2 separate regions of the Homo sapiens genome follow, and region 2 is linked to region 1. Evidence: promoter capture Hi-C in human tissues and cell types (Jung and others, 2019). All regions are on one chromosome and are shown on one strand. The core of a region is centred on a gene start or on the middle of the fragment in contact, and the rest is flanking DNA. Distances in the headings are between cores, read along the strand shown.

What was found. The method cuts DNA at HindIII sites, captures the fragments that hold promoters and counts their contacts. A contact is called where the count stands out against the background at its distance.
Region 2: a fragment that was not itself captured here is called in contact with the fragment with the promoter of EMC7 in region 1 in 1 of the 25 tissues and cell types used here (lymphoblastoid cells).

What each region holds. Positions count from the first base shown.
Region 1 is chr15:34,100,528-34,103,431 of GRCh38, forward strand. EMC7 (ER membrane protein complex subunit 7) reads right to left here and starts at 1,335. Exons shown (of 5, transcript NM_020154.3): 1 at 1,077-1,335. The coding sequence starts at 1,312. PGBD4 (piggyBac transposable element derived 4) reads left to right here and starts at 1,556. Exons shown (of 1, transcript NM_152595.5): 1 at 1,556-2,904. The coding sequence starts at 2,005. RefSeq lists enhancers at 479-1,336, 946-1,645, 1,676-1,765. The HindIII fragment of the contact is 11,801 bases long and covers 1-2,904 here.
Region 2 is chr15:34,575,710-34,578,705 of GRCh38, forward strand. All of the region lies in intron 1 of GOLGA8B (golgin A8 family member B), which reads right to left. Among named protein-coding and RNA genes, the nearest start is that of GOLGA8B, 6.4 kb to the right of the region's middle. The HindIII fragment of the contact is 3,792 bases long and covers 1-2,996 here.

The DNA.
Region 1 (2,904 bases), core at 85-2,584:
AGGGTAAACTCTAACGAATGCCCTAATGCCAGATTCTTAATGACAGACAGCAGTAAAATACTGGTTGTAAATTTGTCACTATTTATTAATCTGAGGTTGAATAACCACTCAAGGGCACTTAGATGATCTGAACAAATATGTAAATCAGATTTGGATTTAAATGTCTACATTTAAGTTGTCTGATTTTCAGATACCATTTGCTGGTGTACGAACCCACCAAAGGAAATACTTCCTAATTATTTGCTTTCAGTTTACAGTTTCACCTCCAAGTAAGGGTGGAAAGATTTAAAACAACATACGCGTGCCTAGACATTTCAAAAGCAGGCTGCTGCAAAACTAGTGCTAACAAATTCATCCTGTCTTTTAATATAGACAGAAAACCCACTTCCACTAATAGCATGAAAGGACAGAAGCAAGAAAGCAATGTAGAGGAACCCTAGTCTCACATAAATGACAAGTGTGATATAGCAAATCTCTCGATGAATTCAACTGTAAAAAAGAACAACGATCCCACCCCCAAGCAAAAAAAAAAAGAAAAAAAAAGTGCTTTGATTAGGGATTTCAGAGCCTATTAATTTTAGAAGCAGTAACATTAGCCTCCCAGTCTATGTCGTCACTAGAAGCCCTTTGGGTTTTGAGAATTCCCACTTGTGTCGCATCTTTCTACATAATAACAAGCTACCAAAAGACTGAAGTGAATGCAAAAAACGACTAGGTTCTAGGGAAACCAGATGAGATATAAAAGAATCCAACAAGAGACTAATAAGGGTCCACCTGTCCCCAGGGCCCAGGAATGATCGTCCCCACATGGGGCCAAAATAAGGTTGGAAATAACTGACTCCATGCTCTGACCATGGCAGGGGGTGAGCGCCTGCCATGCTCATTCCAGAGGTACAGGACCAGGAAAGGGAAAGCATCCGACTGCCTCCCAAGGTCTCCCGGCATAGACCGTTAGCGGCACCCTCCCCTTCAGTCTGAGACAGCGACGTTGTCCCGTCCTGACACTTAACTCTCCTGGTGGGGTCCCTGTCCGGCCTCCATCCCAGCCTTTTTCCCGCTGCCCTCAGGATGCTCACTTAAGGAAACCGACGTGCTCTTCTCCGTCTACCAGCACTCGGGCCGCCGAGATCCAGTCCTGAGGCTTCACCCCTGGAACAACTGCACGCCCCTCAATCTTGAAGCGATCTCCTATGCCGACCCCACTCCCTCCCGATCCCTCAGCAGCAGCCCCGGGCACCTCCGAGCTCTGGACATCCCCCGATAGCAGCAGCAGCAGCAGGACGGGAAAGAAGCCCCACAGAGCGGCCGCCATGACAGCAGCTCTGCACTCAGACCGGCAGCCCCGGAAGCCCTCCCAGTCTCCCGGCCGCCACCGCCGCCGCTGGCGGCTTGATGTTGTCATCACTGCGCGCCCGTTTCTGTCATAAGCTGTGGGATCCAACCAGAGGGAAGAGATCATGGCCGATCGACTAGCGAGGCGGAAGTAAGGCGGAAGTACTGCCCTTAACTCCCGGCACTCTGGATTGGAAGACGGCGCACAGAGCCTGTGTCAAGTGCCTATGAAGGGGACTGCCCATGAAGTGAAAGTCAAGTGTGTGTTGCTGCGGCAGCCACGGAGGCCAAGGACCTCACGGGAGTAAAAGATGACGAGACTGGCTTCGGGAGAAACACCATCCAGAAGAGACCTTTCAAAAAACTTCTAGAGACTCCCCAAGACGTATGAGATGAAAGGCTTCTTCTGTCTGTGTGCGTTTAACTCATTTCTCCTTAGCCCCGAGATTACGCGCTGCTGTGCCTGCGACTGCAGCGTTTACGCCGAGATAACTCGTGGATTACAGTGCCAACCTTACTCCCAAAGTTTGCCACGAAATATCTCGCTTCTGTTATTTTCGCATGGTTCTGGTATATTGACTTTTGAAACAAAAGACATCATTCTGTTTATAGCATTCTGTTTTTAGTAGTGGGATTTCCATCTACAAAATATAGTAATTCTCGATCGCTGAAATGTCAAATCCTAGAAAACGTAGCATTCCTATGCGTGATAGTAATACCGGTCTCGAACAGTTGTTGGCTGAAGATTCATTTGATGAATCTGATTTTTCGGAAATAGATGATTCTGATAATTTTTCGGATAGTGCTTTAGAAGCCGATAAGATCAGGCCTCTGTCCCATTTAGAATCTGATGGAAAGAGCTCTACATCAAGTGACTCAGGGCGCTCCATGAAATGGTCAGCTCGTGCTATGATTCCACGTCAAAGGTATGACTTTACCGGCACACCTGGCAGAAAAGTCGATGTCAGTGATATCACTGACCCATTGCAGTATTTTGAACTGTTCTTTACTGAGGAATTAGTTTCAAAAATTACTAGAGAAACAAATGCCCAAGCTGCCTTGTTGGCTTCAAAGCCACCGGGTCCGAAAGGATTTTCGCGAATGGATAAATGGAAAGACACTGACAATGACGAGCTCAAAGTCTTTTTTGCAGTAATGTTACTGCAAGGTATTGTGCAGAAACCTGAGCTGGAGATGTTTTGGTCAACAAGGCCTCTTTTGGATACACCTTATCTCAGGCAAATTATGACTGGTGAAAGATTTTTACTTTTGTTTCGGTGCCTGCATTTTGTCAACAATTCTTCTATATCTGCTGGTCAATCAAAGGCCCAGATTTCATTGCAGAAGATCAAACCTGTGTTCGACTTTCTTGTAAATAAATTTTCCACTGTATATACTCCAAACAGAAACATTGCAGTTGATGAATCACTGATGCTGTTCAAGGGGCCATTAGCTATGAAGCAGTACCTCCCGACAAAACGAGTACGATTTGGTCTGAAGCTATATGTACTTTGTGAAAGTCAGTCTGGTTATGTGTGGAATGCGCTTGTTCACACAGGGCCTGGCATGAAT
Region 2 (2,996 bases), core at 85-2,584, 480 kb after region 1:
TCCATGATCCACCCCAACCTACCGTGGGGCTCTCACATCTTCCAGATTGTGCCTCTCTAGGAGGGCCTTGGACCCAGAGCCAGAATGGGGCTCTGATGCCATTGCACATTCTCCAGCAACCCCTTCCATGCCCTCCCTCCTGATCCCACCCAGCTCTAAACTGGGAACAAGAAAGCTGGAATATAGTAGCTGCTTGGAAAATACCTACTGAGTGCATGGGTGGATAGATGGACAGTGCTCCAGGCAAAGGGACTCGGGGGTAAGAAAAGTGAAGGGTACCTGCTCCCGGTTGTACCACTGCAGAGTCCCTGAGTGTCAAAGGACTGAGAGGTGAATGACGGGACGGGCAAGGTGAGACCTACCAGGTTAGCGTCCCGCACCCCTTTGTTTCCACTATTAGATTAAGCCACCCTATGTGATGGATAAAAGGAGCAACACATACAAGGAGTTAGGCCAGGGTTGCCAAAGTGAGGGGTGGGAATGCTGCCAGTCCAGGGGTCCCCCACGGCAGCTCCCCAAATGAAGTCAAGACAAGTTGGAGATGAGGCTGCCTCTAGGTGTATCAAATCAACTGAAGTAGCACCAGTCCTCAGTGCTGATTAAGCACAGGCACGCCTGTGATCAAGAAGAAAACCATTACTTAATAAAATGCAATTAATTTAGAAGCTGAAAACTGCGAAAGCCCAAGGGAAAGACACAATCAGGAGTTCTTGGTCTGGAGGGGCTTCTGCTCTCAAAGCTTCCAACCCAACACAGCACAAAGACGTCTTCCCCAACAACCACACATCCCACCTGCAAAACGATGACATGCTCCTCTCCAGGTACCTGAACCTTAGGACTCAAAGGGTAGAGAAAGTTCACAGGCAGAATCTTCACAATACATGCACAAAAGAAAGGCACTTCTAGTAGGAGCTGTGGGTCAGGAAAACCTCGATTTCACCCAATGCCATTCCCGAGAGAATCAACCATCAATGTGACCCATTCAGTCCTGCCTCAGGGGCTCAGAATCTAGCAGTCAGGCCAGGTGGGAAGTGCAGGGACCTGTGGCCAAAATCGGTCCATTCATCACTCAGCTGACAGCTTTCACGCGTACCAGCCAGAATCAGTTAGAGGCTGGAGGTAGTGCCAAGTGTCTGAAACCCAGCAGGCAGGTTGGTAAAACACTCACACATCCTAACCCTGGTGACTGCACTGACTGACTGCTTTCCTGTAGCAGAACAGTTGCACACATCTCATCTCCTCCATCCATAATAACTCAGTGGCTGGTGAGGAATGGGACACAGACCTCCACGTGCCCTTCTTGGGATGAGTCAAGACAAACTCTGAGCAGTGACGCTCTACAGCTGGCTCACACGTGCAGGCAGAGCCTGGCTTCCCAGAGCTTCCAGTTCCTAACACATGCCTGGCCCCACTGCACCACACCCGTGACAGCTGCCACCAGCTCCGGATAATTCAGACAGATGCTAGAGCACATGGCTCACTTATTACACCAAAAGACTGAGAAACAGAAACTGTGTTTTAATTGCACAATGCACACACTTGCTTCCAGAGAGACCTGAGAAATCCATCATCCCTAAATGCATGCGGTTACTCAACTAGTGGCTTTACTATTTTTGAAACAATAGATTTTTCCAAGACAGCTGATAATCAAACCAACTGCGGGAAACCATAAACGATACTTGTTTATTAAATTAAGAACACATACAACAGTTCAGAGGAATCCATATTTAGAGCTGCCTTGCTGGAGAATCAATTCCAGGAATGCCAAACCAACCAAATGAAAAAAATTATATATCATACACACACACACACACACACACACACACACACACACACACACACACACACACAGATGCGTCACTTAATGACAGGGATGTATTCTGAGAAATTTATCATTAGGCAATTTCATCATTATGAGAACATCATAGAGCATACATTATACAAACCTACTACAACACACTAGGTTATAGGGTACAGCCTACTGCTCCTAGGCTGCAAACCTAGGCAGCATGTTACTGTGCTGAAGGTGTGTATCTAAACATAGAAAAGGCACAAAGTTAAAATATGCTATAAAAGATAAAACATGGTGCCCCTGTCTAGGGCACTTTCTATGAATGGACCTTCCATGAATGGAAGTTGCTCCGGTGAGTCAGTCTGTACACTAGTGCAGACTTTATAAACATTGTACAGTTAGGCTACATTTTTTTAAAAAATAAAGTAACTGCACTACAACTTTACGACAATGTCACTAGGCAATAGGAATTTTTGAGCCCCATGATATTCTTATGGGACCTCTGTCATATACGCTATCACTCACAAAAACAATGTCATGTGATGCATGACAGTACATATGTATCTCAACTGAAAATCCTAAATGTCAGTAGTGTTCTCTGACTCACTATTTACTAGTAAGTTTCCTCAGAACTGTCTTTGCCTGAGAGTTTCACAACCAAGCGTCTCTCTGCACAGTTGATTCTAGGGACAAGAAGTGCTAAGAATCCATGTTGGCTTCAAGTGCAAAATGGAAAACACCTTAGTGTCCCACCAACCATGTTAGCCACCTTCCTGGAGGGCAAGCTCCCACGCCCTTTCCCCATCGCTGTGAAGAGCTCACGTCATCTGTGGCATTTCCATAACTCTCCGATGCCAGCCATCAGTCTCTCAGCACGTGTTGAAAATTAGCCCCTGTACTTGCCCACCAATGGTCATAAGTCCTAGTCATGCCCACCCCGTTAAAAACAAATCTGATACAAAATGGGCCCCAGCAGGAGACAGAGAGAAAACATGGGCCTCACACTCTCTCCAGCTCAGGCTCAAAGGCCAGCACTGCCCCGTCACAGCAGAGTGCTCTTAGGCAACCCATAGCTCAGCTACCTGTCCCCAGCCTCCTCGTCGCGAAGTTAAGACAAGACCTGCCTTCTGGATTTGTAGGGAAATTATTTAAAATGACAAACAAAGAGGGATGGAACTCAACACACAGAATTGCCCGATGATGC